4 separate regions of the Homo sapiens genome follow, and all the other regions are linked to region 4. Evidence: promoter capture Hi-C in human tissues and cell types (Jung and others, 2019). All regions are on one chromosome and are shown on one strand. The core of a region is centred on a gene start or on the middle of the fragment in contact, and the rest is flanking DNA. Distances in the headings are between cores, read along the strand shown.

What was found. The method cuts DNA at HindIII sites, captures the fragments that hold promoters and counts their contacts. A contact is called where the count stands out against the background at its distance.
Region 1: a contact is called between a fragment that was not itself captured here and the fragment with the promoter of DCAF4 in region 4, in 1 of the 25 tissues and cell types used here (dorsolateral prefrontal cortex).
Region 2: a contact is called between a fragment that was not itself captured here and the fragment with the promoter of DCAF4 in region 4, in 1 of the 25 tissues and cell types used here (aorta).
Region 3: a contact is called between a fragment that was not itself captured here and the fragment with the promoter of DCAF4 in region 4, in 1 of the 25 tissues and cell types used here (dorsolateral prefrontal cortex).

The regions. Positions count from the first base shown.
Region 1 is chr14:71,602,246-71,605,527 of GRCh38, reverse strand. All of the region lies in intron 5 of SIPA1L1 (signal induced proliferation associated 1 like 1), which reads right to left. Among named protein-coding and RNA genes, the nearest start is that of SNORD56B, 210 kb to the right of the region's middle. RefSeq lists an enhancer at 1-66. The HindIII fragment of the contact is 3,041 bases long and covers 1-3,026 here.
Region 2 is chr14:71,454,159-71,457,236 of GRCh38, reverse strand. The region is part of intron 2 of SIPA1L1 (signal induced proliferation associated 1 like 1); the gene reads right to left. Among named protein-coding and RNA genes, the nearest start is that of SNORD56B, 57 kb to the right of the region's middle. The HindIII fragment of the contact is 3,250 bases long and covers 1-3,053 here.
Region 3 is chr14:71,666,166-71,669,413 of GRCh38, reverse strand. The region is part of intron 10 of SIPA1L1 (signal induced proliferation associated 1 like 1); the gene reads right to left. Among named protein-coding and RNA genes, the nearest start is that of RGS6, 260 kb to the left of the region's middle. The HindIII fragment of the contact is 5,487 bases long and covers 1-3,248 here.
Region 4 is chr14:72,924,333-72,927,713 of GRCh38, reverse strand. It overlaps DCAF4 (DDB1 and CUL4 associated factor 4), which reads right to left and starts at 1,250. Exons shown (of 14, transcript NM_015604.4): 1 at 1,171-1,250. RefSeq lists enhancers at 1-540, 1,212-1,481, 1,772-1,871, 2,272-3,138 and a silencer at 982-1,041. The HindIII fragment of the contact is 2,487 bases long and covers 325-2,811 here.

The DNA of each region.
Region 1 (3,282 bases), core at 257-2,756, 1.3 Mb after region 4:
TGAAAGTAAACTCAAAAAACTTCAAGAAGCAACTGTTACATCAGATGTGTACATAGTAATGTAAGGACATAGAAACCATGAAAAAACTAAGAAATATGACATCTTAAAAGGAATAGAATTAAGTCTCCAGCAACAGATCCCAAACAAAAAGAAATATACAAAATCCTAGAAAAAGAATTCAAAATGTTGATTAATGAAGCTCAGTGAAATACAACCAAATACTGAAAAACAACACAAATATATCAGAATATGAATGAGAAATTTACCAAAGAGATAGAAATTATAAAAAGAAACAAACAGAAATATTAGAAGTGAGGAATTCATTGAATGAAATACAAAATACATTTGAAAGCAACAACAATAGACTAGATTAAGCAGAAAAAAAAGAACCTCAGTACTTGACGACAGATCTTTTGAAATAACATAGTCAGTCAAAAATTGCAAAAAAAGAATAAAAAAATGCAAAGCTTATGTGACATGAGACATTATAAAGCAATCAAATATTCAAATTTTCAGAGTCCCAGAAGGTGAAAAGAAAATCAAAGGGTTAGAAAATATATTTAATGAAATAATAAGATAAAAACATTCCAAGTCTAGCAAGAGATTTAGATATCCAGATACAGGAAGCTTACAGATCCCCAAACAGAAACAATAAAAAAGGGTCTTCTCCACAGCACATTTTGGTCAAACCATCAAAAGCCAAAGACAAAAATAGCAAGAGAAAAGTGTGTAGTCACTTATAAAGGGACCCCCATCAGACTAACAGTGGATTCTAAGCAGAAAACTTATAAGCCAGTAGAGAATGGGAAGATATATTAGAAGTGCTGGGGAAAAAAAAGAAAAAAAATAAATAAATAAACCTGTCAGCCAAGGCTACTATACTCAGCAGTTATCCTTCATAAATGAAGGAAAAAGAGTCTTTCCAAGACAAGCAAAAGCTGAGATAACTCATCTTTTTTTAGTGTTAAATTCAGTGCTAAAAAAAAATGCTTAAGTGAGTCCTAGCCCTGGAAGTGAAAGAATGATAACTACTACCAACATGAAAACACACAAAAATGTTACCACTCCAGAAATCCACCAAACTTGGCCAGGTGCAGTGGCTCCCACCTGTAATCCCAGCACTCTGGGAGGTTGAGGCAGAAAGAATGCTTGAACCTAGTAGTTTGAGACCAGCTTGGGCAACATAGTGAGACTTCATCCCTAGAAACAAATTTTTAAAAAAATTAGCTAAGGCCAGGTGCAGTTGCTCAAACCTATATTGTTCTAGCACTGTGGGAGGCTGGAGCAGATGGCTTGAGCTCAGGAGTTCAAGACCAGCCAGGGCAACATGGTGAAACCTCATCTCTATAAAAAAATATAAAAGTGAGCCAGGCGTGGTGGCATGTGCCCATAGTCCCAGCTACTCAGGGGGCTGAGGCAGGAGGATCACTTGAGCCTGGGAGGCAAGAGGTTGCAGTTAGCTGAGATCAGGCCTCTACACTCTAGTCTGGTTGAGAGAGCAAAACTTTGTCTCAAAAAAAAAAAAATTTATATATATATAAATATATATAAATATATCTATATATAAATATATATAAATATATATAGATATATAAATATATATATATTTATATATATCTTGCTCTTGCTCTGTTGCCCAGGCTAGAGTGCAGTGGTGCAATCTCGGCTCACCGCAACCTCCACCTCCCAGGTTCAAGTGATTCTCCTGCCTCAGCCTCCTGAGTAGCTGGGATTACACGCACGTGCCTGGCTGATTTTTTTGTATTTTTAGCAGAGATGGGGTCTCACCATCTTGGCCAGGCTGGTCTCGAACTCCTGACCTCGTGATCCACCCGCCTCGGCCTCCCAAAGTGCTGGGATTACAGGCGTGGGCCACTATGCCCGGCTATATTTCTTTTTAATTAGTAAGGCATGGTGGCACATGCCTGTAGTCCTAGATATTCAGGAGGCTGAGGTGGGAGGATCACTTAAAGCCTGGGAGTTCAAGGCTGCAGTAGGCCATGATCACACCACTGTACTCTGGCCTAAATAACAGAGTAAGCATCTGTCTCAAAAGAAAGAAAAAAAAAGAAAACCACCAAATCACAGTGGTAAATAACATGAGAAAGAAACCGATATATAAAATAACTAGAAATCAATTAATAAAGTGACAGAAATATGTCCCCCCTATAAATAATAACCTTGAATGTAAATAGATTACATTTTCCACAGAAAAGATATAGATCGGCTGATTTGAAAAAAAATATATATATGATCCAACTATATAATATCCACAAGAAACTCATCTTACCTCTGAAGAAACATACAAACTACAGTAATAGGATAAAAAAGGTATTCCATGGAAATGGAAACCAAAAGTGAGCAGGAATAGGTAGACTTAGATAAAACAGACTTTAAGTCAAACAAAGTAAGAGACAATGAAGGCCATTATATAAGATAGATCAACTCAGCAAAAAGATGTAACAATTCTAAACATATCTGCACTCACCACCAGAGCACCCAGATACATAAACAAAACATTATTAGATTTAAAGAGAAAGACTCCAATACTATTATAGTTAGAGCAGTGGTCCCCAACCTTTTTGGCACCAGGAACAGGTTTCATGGAAGACAATTTTTCCATGGATGGTGGGGACAGGGGACAGGCATTAGATTCTAATAAGGAGGGCACAACCTAGATCCCTCGCATGTGCAGTTCACAGTAGGGTTCATTTGCGCTCCTATGAGAATTTAATGCCGACGCTGTTCTGACTAGAGGCAGAGCTTAGGTGATAATGCTGGCTCACCTGCTGCTCACCTCCTGCTGCGCAGCCTGGTTCCTAACAGGCCACAGACCAGTGGTTGGGGACTCCTGAGTTAGAGACTTCAATACCCTACTCTCATCCTTAGACAGATCATCCAGACAGAAAATCAATAAAGAAACACTGAATTTAAGCTACACATTAGACCAAATGGATATAACAGACATTTACAGAATATATTTCATTCAGTAGCTGCAGCATACACATTCTTTTCATCAGCACATAGAACATTCTCCAAGATAGACTGTATGTTAGGACCCAAATAAGTCTCAACAAAACTTTAAAACTTGAAATAATATCAAGTATCTCCTGAGACCACAATGAAATAAAACTAGAAACCAATAATAAGAGAAACTCTATAAACTGTAAAAATAAATAGAAATTAAACAATATGCTCCTGAATGACCACTGGGTCAAAGAAGAAACTAAAAAGAAAATGAAGAAATTTCTTGAAGCAAATGAAAACCAAAAAACAATGTAC
Region 2 (3,078 bases), core at 179-2,678, 1.5 Mb after region 4:
CTGACAATTTCTCTTTTACAAGGAATGGAAGAATGGAGGGTTGCTAGCTAGACAAGGAGAGCAGAAGACTATTTGAAGAAGGCAGGAAATAAAAGTCAGATGGATGCTAGGGCAGTTTGAAGTATTAAAAAATATATTCTACACAGTGTCAGTAAGTCTCCATTTAAAAGATATTTACTGTAATCCCAGCACTTTGGGAGGCCAAGGCAGTAGGATTGCTTGAGGCTAGGTGTTTGAGACCAGCCTGAGCAATGTAGCAAGGCCTTGTCCTCAATTTTAAAAATAAATAAATAAGAGAAATTTGGATTTCAGATGGCAATACTGATGTCCTATTAAGTTGGTTTCAAAAAACTTCTGCACAAACTTAATGCTGGAAGCAATAATTCTTATTTAGATTTATTCAATTCTCCAGATCAAGAAACACAAAAGGTTGTTTGGAAGAAAAATATATTTTATTTTAAAAACTGGATTCGTCCACCAGGAAAAATGAGTGAGTAAAGACTGAAAAATTAAAAACTTAAAAATGTAAAAGCTTTTTAGAACTGGATTAATATATAACACACTTTAGACATTCTGTTTTGTCTGAAAATAAACTTTAACTCTTCTGTAATAATAAGCCAACACTATAAGGATGCAAACAAAGTAATATAGAGTTGCCAATAATTATTAATGTTTTTTGGCTGTAATTCCTGGGCTATTTTATATAATTGTACATTTGGTTCTGCCTAGACATGCTATTCAGCTGGATTCATAAAACATACCACACTACCACACAAGTGCTGGCAGACCAATGTATAATAAACAGTTATCCACTGTAATATTTTAGTACATAAAATTGATAGGGTTGTATTTTTAATATAAGATGTTGAATACTTGTATCAATAAGAATTTCTTACATTTATTGCAAGCTTTTCAAACACAAATCTAAGCATATCATGAATGATGGATCAGTTAATGCGTGTCTGTTCTCTCTCATCTGATTTGCTCGTCTCTTTGCTTTTTTACCGTGGCTGCTTTTGTGCTATCCATGTACTATGCTCTTGCAGTTATACCACACAACAACTTGAGATGTTGTTTTACACATATTAGTAAAAGAAATATCTCAACACCAGGGTTCTGTCTCAGAGGATTGTTAAAAACTGTTTAGACCAAATTGCCAATTAAAAAATGATATTGCATGTGAAATAAAATAATTTACGTTTTTCCCTTTAGCTGTAAAAACAAAATCGCACACAATTTCTAAATACCATAAACACAATAGTAAATGAAAGAGTTTTGTCCAAACTAGTTAAGATGTCAAACCAACCAACAATAACCACCAAAAGTATATTAAACAAGTAATATATAAGTAAGAATACATCCTGCTACCGTAATATGTGAAGGGAAAGGCATCATAAATACTTGGAAAAAACAAGAAGGAACAATTTAACATAATGACTCAGGCATTGAAAGCAAACATATGTAGGTTCAAATCTCAGCTCAGGCCCTTACGAACTATGTGACCTTGTAGAAACCAATTTACCCTTATTAGTAACATGAGAACATCCACTGACATCTCACAGGATGATTTTAAAGATTAAATACTACATGCCAAAGTCTTTAGCAAAGTCCCACATATAAATTAAATTAAATAATAATGGTAAACATTATTATTATTGCTAACTTAAACTTCTTTCAATAAGCATTCGGAATTACCAAAAGACCATAACCTAAGATAATCAAATTTAATCATAAAAATCACACCAATTAAATCACACCAATTTCTAGTTTAGGAATTTTGTCTCGTGATCATATGGAACTCCAAAGAATTCTAAACTATAAACAAGCAATACAGACAGCGGGAATAAGCCATTCTTCCTCCTTTCTCCTAGTCCAAATAATTTAAGAAAAGGGATGAAAAAAAGCAAGAAAAACAATCATTTGGAATCAATCACTTCGCCATTCACTTGATCAAACAATGGCATACATTCAATCACAGCTAAAGATAAAACTAAACAATTTGCAAGTAAAGTTACAAAACTGCACACTCATTTCCTCTAACCTGTAAACCAACTTGTTACAGTTAACACTATAATGATTTTCTGAGACAGAATGCAACTATTCAAACAAGTATCTGTACATGATAAAAATATGAACTTAGTAAAAAGGCATGGCATTCTATCTCATTCAAATCTTCACTTGTACATTCACTCATGAAGGATCTAGCAGGTTCTGGCTCTGTGTCAGCCCCTGTCAAATATTAATAAGGCAATAAGGGTAATCCCTGCAGGAATACAGTATCCGTGAAAGTGTAAAGAACCTGTGACATCAGGTGTCCCGTCTCACTCAGCACATGATTCTGAACCTCCACAGTAAAAGGGCAGATAAAGGGAGTAACCGCAGTGACACCGGGTAGACAGAGCCAGAGCTTATAGGGCCCATCTCATGTGTGCTTTATCTGATCTTCATCTTGAAAGCTATGGTTTTATAATAAACAGCTTTTTGTTGTTTCTCCTTTTATTTATGGTACTCATTTGTTTAATCAGCATATTTGTTCAGTTGTAAGAAAATAAACTCTATACTGCCTTTGCACCCAATCAGGCACCAATTTCTAAGTGTCCATTTTCTAAGTGTCTATTCCATTCTTCGAAGATAGTTCCAAGACCACCTTCTCCAGAAAGCAGAAGCCTTCAATTAAAAAAATCACCTCTTTGCTGCTATGGTATTACATTTAATGATATTTGTACCTTTAATTAGATGCTTTAATTAAAATGTTTACTTAATATTAATATAAGAAAGTATAAATCAAGAACAACTCTCCATACAATTCCCTAATAGTCCTTTATCTGAGATTCAATAACTGCCAATCCACTTTTATATATTACTGGCGCCCAGGATAGCTAAAGAGTTGACAGAGAGTTGTTCAATTTAAACCAAAGGTTCTAAATACTATAGTTTTTCCGCAAGTAAAATCATAAGATCAGAGTTAGGACATTTCCATCTACCCTTTCTAATTATGTGACCTCCTTTAACCTTTTCCAGCCTCAATTGCCTTGTACATACAATGGGTATAACATGCCTATATCACAGTACTGTTAA
Region 3 (3,248 bases), core at 37-2,536, 1.3 Mb after region 4:
TATCTGTGATTTTATTTTAAATAAGGAGAGCAAAATGTTTAGCAGGGGGTGTGATTTTAAGCACCCTCCATCTACTTGCCCCTTAAACTAACTGGCTTTCTGCAGATCCATTTATTAATTGATAGAACTTTAGACAAACATACACTGAAAACCTACCAATAATTAGAAACAGCTATAATGAACTGTGAGGAAAAGAACTGAATCCTTACCATATAATTTTCAATGATTCACTGTGGTAGGGAGGTAAATGATACAGGCACTGAAATCAGCTTCGCATAGTCAGAAATAGAATCCTTACAGAAGATGAGGAAGATGATACCCTGGAATGCTCTTTTCAAATAAATGATTTTGTTTTGGATAAATCAAACTGGCAAGGTTTCTACAAGGTTAAAAGCTCATTAATTTAGATGCCACAAATTCTGAACTCTTGATAATAAGGCCTGGTTTAAGCTAAACAGAATATTTAGAAAAAAAGCCTTTCTAGAATCTCAGTTTGCTGCATGTAGTTACTTAAGATATATTAATTATAAACGGTTCTTGGTATTTTTAAAAGCAGATTCCAAAGGGCCTCTGCTTGGCTGTATGTATATTAGCCTAGTTGGCAATTCTGTGTCTTCTTGGAAATAATACATGCTTTAAAATCATAGCCATGCTTTATTTACCCAGCATTGTTGAGGACTGGAATGTTCTACTCAGCAGGGTTATCTAGATGACAGACAGACAGAGCTAGAGGCTAAAACAGTGATGGAAAGTTATCACAGGAAGGGAACTTAACAGAACTCAATGTTCCTCAAATTCTTTCAGTAAAATCTTTGGGTTTCATTTGAAAATTCACCTCGATTTTACATTCTACTGAAAAATATTTGTGTTCATTTTCATATAAAAATATCTTCTCACTCCAAAATCTTTGGGTACACTGAGCGACCAGGAAGGTGTCTTGTTTGTATTCTGTGGTTTGACATCTTCATGAACCTCCGGTTGAGCAGCTGGTACAAATTCTTCACTTCTCCAGGAACAGATACAGAGAAGTAAAAGGATTTACCCAGATTTGTTAGAGAGAGCCAGGATTGGAATGTAAGCTTCTGGACAGCCAAGAGAGTGCTCCACGACAAGCCCACACTTACTCCCTCTGAGGAAGTGCTTTCAAACCTCCTACTCCTGAGGTGCCTGCTAAAAGGGACCATTCACATGGGTCACATGGCCTAAGAGATGATGAGGCTATTTCTACTCGATATGGGCCATGTAACATTGGTTGGCATCAAAGAGCTTGAATGAAATAACAAGTGTTGATACCCAAAGCCAACTTCAAGCTGACACATGAAAATGTTCCAAAGACTTTTTTTTTTTTTGAGACGGAGTCTCACTCTGTTGCCCAGGCTGGAGTGCAGTGGCGCGATCTCGGCTCACTGCAACCTCTGCCTCCTGGGTTCAAGCAATTCTCCTGCCTCAGCCTCCCCAGAAGCTGGAACTACAGGGGCCCGCCATCTCGCCTGGCTAATTTTTTGTATTTTTAGTAGAGACAGGGTTTCACTGTGTTAGCCAGGATGGTCTCGATCTCCTGACTTCATGATCCGCCTGCCTCAGCCTTCCAAATTGCTGGGATTACAGGCATGAGCCAACACGCCCGGCCTGTTTCAAAGACTTCTGAACAGTTTAGTGGATAAAAATTGAGAAATATAAGACATTTGAACTTTGGAAGCACAATGGAAAAACAGCAATAATCAACAATCCCCAGCCCAAAATTTAAAAGGAAGGTGATACAGAAAACATCAAATGGGAGAAGGAAGTTTCCTCTTCTTGGAGCCTGAATCAGATTACTGGCCAGGGCAGCTTCCAAGAAAGCAGATCTGGGCAAAGGACAGGAAAGATCAAACACGTGCCAATCATTCTCTCGATTTCTAATAGTATTGATCCACCAGTCACTGAGTACCTACTATGTGCTAGGCACTTTGCCTTTGCTGAGGATCAAGGCTGAAGATGTCCCGGGCTCAGCCCTCCAGAAACTCAAAGTCTGGTGGGAGCCACAGCCAGTGATTTGAGTCTCCTACTTGCGAAGTACAGGGTGCTACTGGTAGCACTTAGGAAAGGCACTTTAGTCCTGGGAGGTCCAGGGAGCCTTCTCAGAAAAAAGAAAAGCAGGAATTCATCAGATGGAGGGAAAGGGGAATGTGTGAGAGGAGCAGCATGTGCAGAGCGGAGGGGCAGAGCATGCTGTTCTGGGGAGTGGTGAGTAGCTCCAAAGGAGTGAGGTAGGCATGGGGTGCAGACTGGTAGATGAGACTGAGAGACAGGAGGCCAAACCTGAAGCCCCCATGCAGTAAGCTATGCTTGCAAGTCTGAACTTTCCTCTAAATGCTTTTAAGCACAATAAATGACATAATCAGATTCTTGTCTTAGAAAGGTCAGCTGCAGTGGACAATAGGGATGCTGATTAATTGAGGCTTGAAATAGACCTTCTGAAAGAAATTTCTATCACTTGACCTACTTGGATTTTTCTTCTTCTCAGCTGAAGCTTGCAAATTCTTTTTTTTTTTTTTTTTTTTTTACAGAGAGGAAAGAGGATGAACACAGACATTTAATGGACATGCATCACGCTTCCTCCCTGCCTATGCTAGACATTTTACTTAATAGGATTTTAAGTGGATGTCAAGCAACTTCCCACTGCACTGTTTAACAATTTGGTCTAATTCCAAGTGCTTTTTGTACTATATCATACAGATTCCTTTCAACAGTTATTACATTTTAATTACCGGGTATGGAAACCTCTCTGAGAGGAGTAACACATATTTCTACCTTCCTAAACATACCTACTGACCACAGTTTAATATTTGTTTTGAACAATCAGGGTCCTTGTTATGACTACTTATTACTATTTTAGTTTTAAAATGAATAACAACTCTTTTATTTCATCAAATAGTGTGTCAATGTTCCAATTTACAATTGTTTAGGATGTCCTAGGATTTTCTTTATAGTCTTTTTGTCTAAATTGGGATCCAAATAGGATCCACACATTGCAATTAATTTAGCTTTAAAAAATGTTTTATTCTGTAGATTCCCCTCCACTTCCTCACTATTTCTTGCAACTTACTTGTTGAAGAAATGGGGCATTGTGTCTGCAGAGTTATTCAGGGTCTGAATTTTGTCAACTACAAACATGTTCCTCTGTCTTTTGTATTTCCTATAAATTGGCTTTTCTGGAAGCTTGATCAGATTCAGATTTAATTTTTTTTAGGGGGTAGCAAAAATAA
Region 4 (3,381 bases), core at 1-2,500:
AACAGGGATTCCACCTCTGTTGGTAGGACCCCCAGGCCTGGTTACCCACAGAACACCACCTCAGGCCGGGCGCGGTGGCTCACGCCTGTAATCCCAGCACTTTGGGAGGCCGAGGCGGGCGGATCACGAGGTCAGGAGATCGAGACCATCCTGGCTAACACGGTGAAACCCCGTCTCTACTAAAAATACAAAAAATTAGCCGGGCGAGGTGGTGGTCGCCTGTAGCCCCAGCTACGCGGGAAGCTGAGGCAGGAGAATGGCGTGAACCCCGGGGGCGGAGGCTGCAGTGAGTCGAGATCGTGCCACTGCACTCCAGCCTGGGCGACAGCGAGACTCCGCCTCAAAAAAAAAAAAAAAAAAAAAAAAAAAAGAACACCACCGCGACTCTAATTTCCATCGTTATTTAAAATCAGAGTTTGGGACTTTGGAATTGTTTCCTCTAGGAAGCCGTCCCCTCAGTTTTCTTTGCTTCTGGCTGCGCTGCTGGAGTCACAAGACAATGCCTGTAGAACACCATGGTGAAAGGCGTCATGGTTTCTGAAGCCCCCGGGGAGCCCACGAGGCGTGGCTTTCTCGCTAACTCACAACTCAGAGTGGAGGCGAGGGCCAAACCCAGGCCCCATCACTTGCTAGTTGTGCGCTACCCCGACGGACAACCAAACTGCACCCCTTTCTGCGTCTGACAAGGACATCATAGCGCTGGCAAATGTTAGCGCCTGTGAAGCCGGCAGCACAGAGCCGGCCACTTCGTAAGCTTCAACCACACCTAACCTGTTATGCTGACCTGAACATTCACAGGGGACACCGCCCCAAGGCCCGCAGCCCAGCCCCCGCCAGGTGTCGGGTGGGGCCTTCAGCAGCAGGTCTCAGAGAAGCGCTTAGAGAAACGCCCTCAGCGGCGACACTCGGGGTGCCCTCCCTGCGTGTTTACGGTTGCAGCACTGATCCGGCCGGAGGGCCCCACGCGCCCCAGAACGGGCGGAGCGCGCCGGCCCAGCTGCCACCTAGGCCCGGTGGCGCCGGCGTTCCACGTGCTCACTCCTCCCCGCCCCTCCCCGCCCCTTTCCCTGGCCTTCCTCGCCGCGCCTGTCTCCCACCCCGAGCTCTGCAGCGGGAGCGCGGCAGCCCTCGAATCGATGCCAGTAGGCACCCCAGGCAGCACAGTCTTACCTGTTCAGCGTGTCCCTTCCGGATTCCCCTCCGGCTCAGCTCTGCAGGAGTTGGAGCGAAGCGTGCAAGGACCCGGAAAGACCAAGGTGTAGCGTCAGCCAGTTAGGTGGATGCGTTTTGGTGTTGTAGCAGCCGATAGGGCTATAGCGGCCGTTCTTTCCTTCTCACTGGACGCGGCTTCTGTCTGTCGACGTCAATAGGGACGATCTCATGAAGAAGGCGGGGAGTGGGGCTTCGGCTCCTCCCAGGCCTGGCCTGTCTGGGGCGGATGCACGTGGAGGCTGGTCATGGAGCGCTTGGGGGTGGGGCCAGGCGCACGCGGGGGCGGGGCCGGGGGCTGCTCCCGGAGCAGCGGAACTGTCTGGAGACCCTTTCGTGAGAGACCGTGTCTTCCTCCCTCCGCAGGGTGATGCGGCCCTGGAGAAGTCCTCTCGCTGTAGTGGAAAGAGCGAAGGAGTCTGTGAGGCGAGGGACAGAAGTAACGTGATGTTACGACTGGCGGCGAAGTCTTCGGCAGTGGCCTCAGGCGGCCGAGGCCGCTGCCCTGGGTCTGCGTTCAGGGTGTAGCGTAGCGAGCCCTGACCGTGAAACCGGGGGGCCTCCGTGTTGGCTCCAGTACTGCTGCTTGCTGTGGGACCTAGGGCGAGTCTCTTCCCTTCTCTGTGCCTTGATTTCTTCTGTTGAGAGAAGGAATCGGATCTATCATTCTCATGTCCTCTCCAGCTTAGAGTTTGTTCAGACCACCAATATTTCTAGAATGACCTATGTGTGCTGTGCCTGTCCCAGGTATCAGCTGACGGTTATGAGATCTTATGAAAGGAAAACGGAAGCCTCTGATGGGCTTGTGTCCCGAAGAGACAGTTTGTGAGGACAGCTGGATTCACAGAGGCTAGGCTTGTTGGGGTCCAGCAGTAGGCCTGGTGTGTCATGCGGCTCCGTAACACAGGCCCCTGCCCGCGGCTTGGACCCGTTAGAAAGCAGGCGGTGGGGTTCACCCATTGCACGCCGTGCGAAGGCATTTCAGCTCTTAACCAGGAAGCTAGGATTTCAGGCTAAACTCCTGGCTCTCAGGAGTTTATAGATAAATGCAGTATGTGGAGCGGGGCCGGGTGATGAGGGAAATGAGAGAAGTGGGCATAGTCAGAATAAAGAACCGCTTCATGAAGCTTGAGCGGCCTTGAAGAGAAGGCAGAGAAAAATTCTAGCTGAACAAACAACGTGACTGGAGGCCGGTTCAAGCCGGCTGGATGGGAGGGGAGTCTTGGAAGGAAAACTCAGCAGGGTGGGTTGGGGCTTGGTGACGCAGCAATTGCCAGGGAAAGAGTAGTCAGGCCGGGTGCAGTGGCTCACGCCTGAAATCCCAGCACATTGGGAGGTTGAGGCGGGTGGATCACTTGAGGCTAGGAGTTCCAGACCAGCCTGGCCAACATGGCGAAACCCCCAACTCTACTAAAAATACAAAAAATTAGCCGGGCGTGGTGGCGGGCGCCTGTAATCCCAGCTACTCAGGAGGCTGAGGCAGGAGAATTGCTTGAACCCGGGAGGCGGGGGTTGCAGTGAGCCGAGATAGCGCCATTGCACTCCAGCCTGGGTGACAGAGTGAGACCCTGTCTCAAGAAAAAAAAAAGTAGACAATGGGAGGCTCTGAGGGTTCTAGAGTTGGGAAGTGACAGGACTAGAGCTGTGCTTCTGGGAAATCACCGTGTAGGGGGTTGGGGAGAAAAGATTGTGGAAGTCAGCTGGGAGACCCCTAAGGAACTTATTGCAGCAACAGTCCTTGTGAAAGGTAGTGAGGGCCAAACCAGGGTGGGGGTAGCCAGGATGGAAGGGGGGTACAGATGGGAGGCAGAATTCAGAGGGAGAATCGGCCAGACTTAACTCTCGGGGAGGAGTCAAGCTGGATTTTCCACTGAAGAGCCAGGGGACACTTGAGGAAGGTGGCAGGAGGAGTTGGCTTGGGCTTGCTGAGTCAATGAGTGGCTGGCAGCCGGCCAGCAGGCTCTGTTGAATGTCCACAGAGGGGACAGTGACGTGGGCATGAGATATACCTCGGGGACCTGCAACACACACAGATGAAAGATTAAAGAATGTTTGCAAATCAGTGAACAAATGAAGCTTGCTGGGCCTTGGGCAAGTCATGAGGCATTCCAACCTCAGTTTCTTCACAGATTAGAATGAGGATAAGACATCTACTGAGAAAGGTTGTAAGGA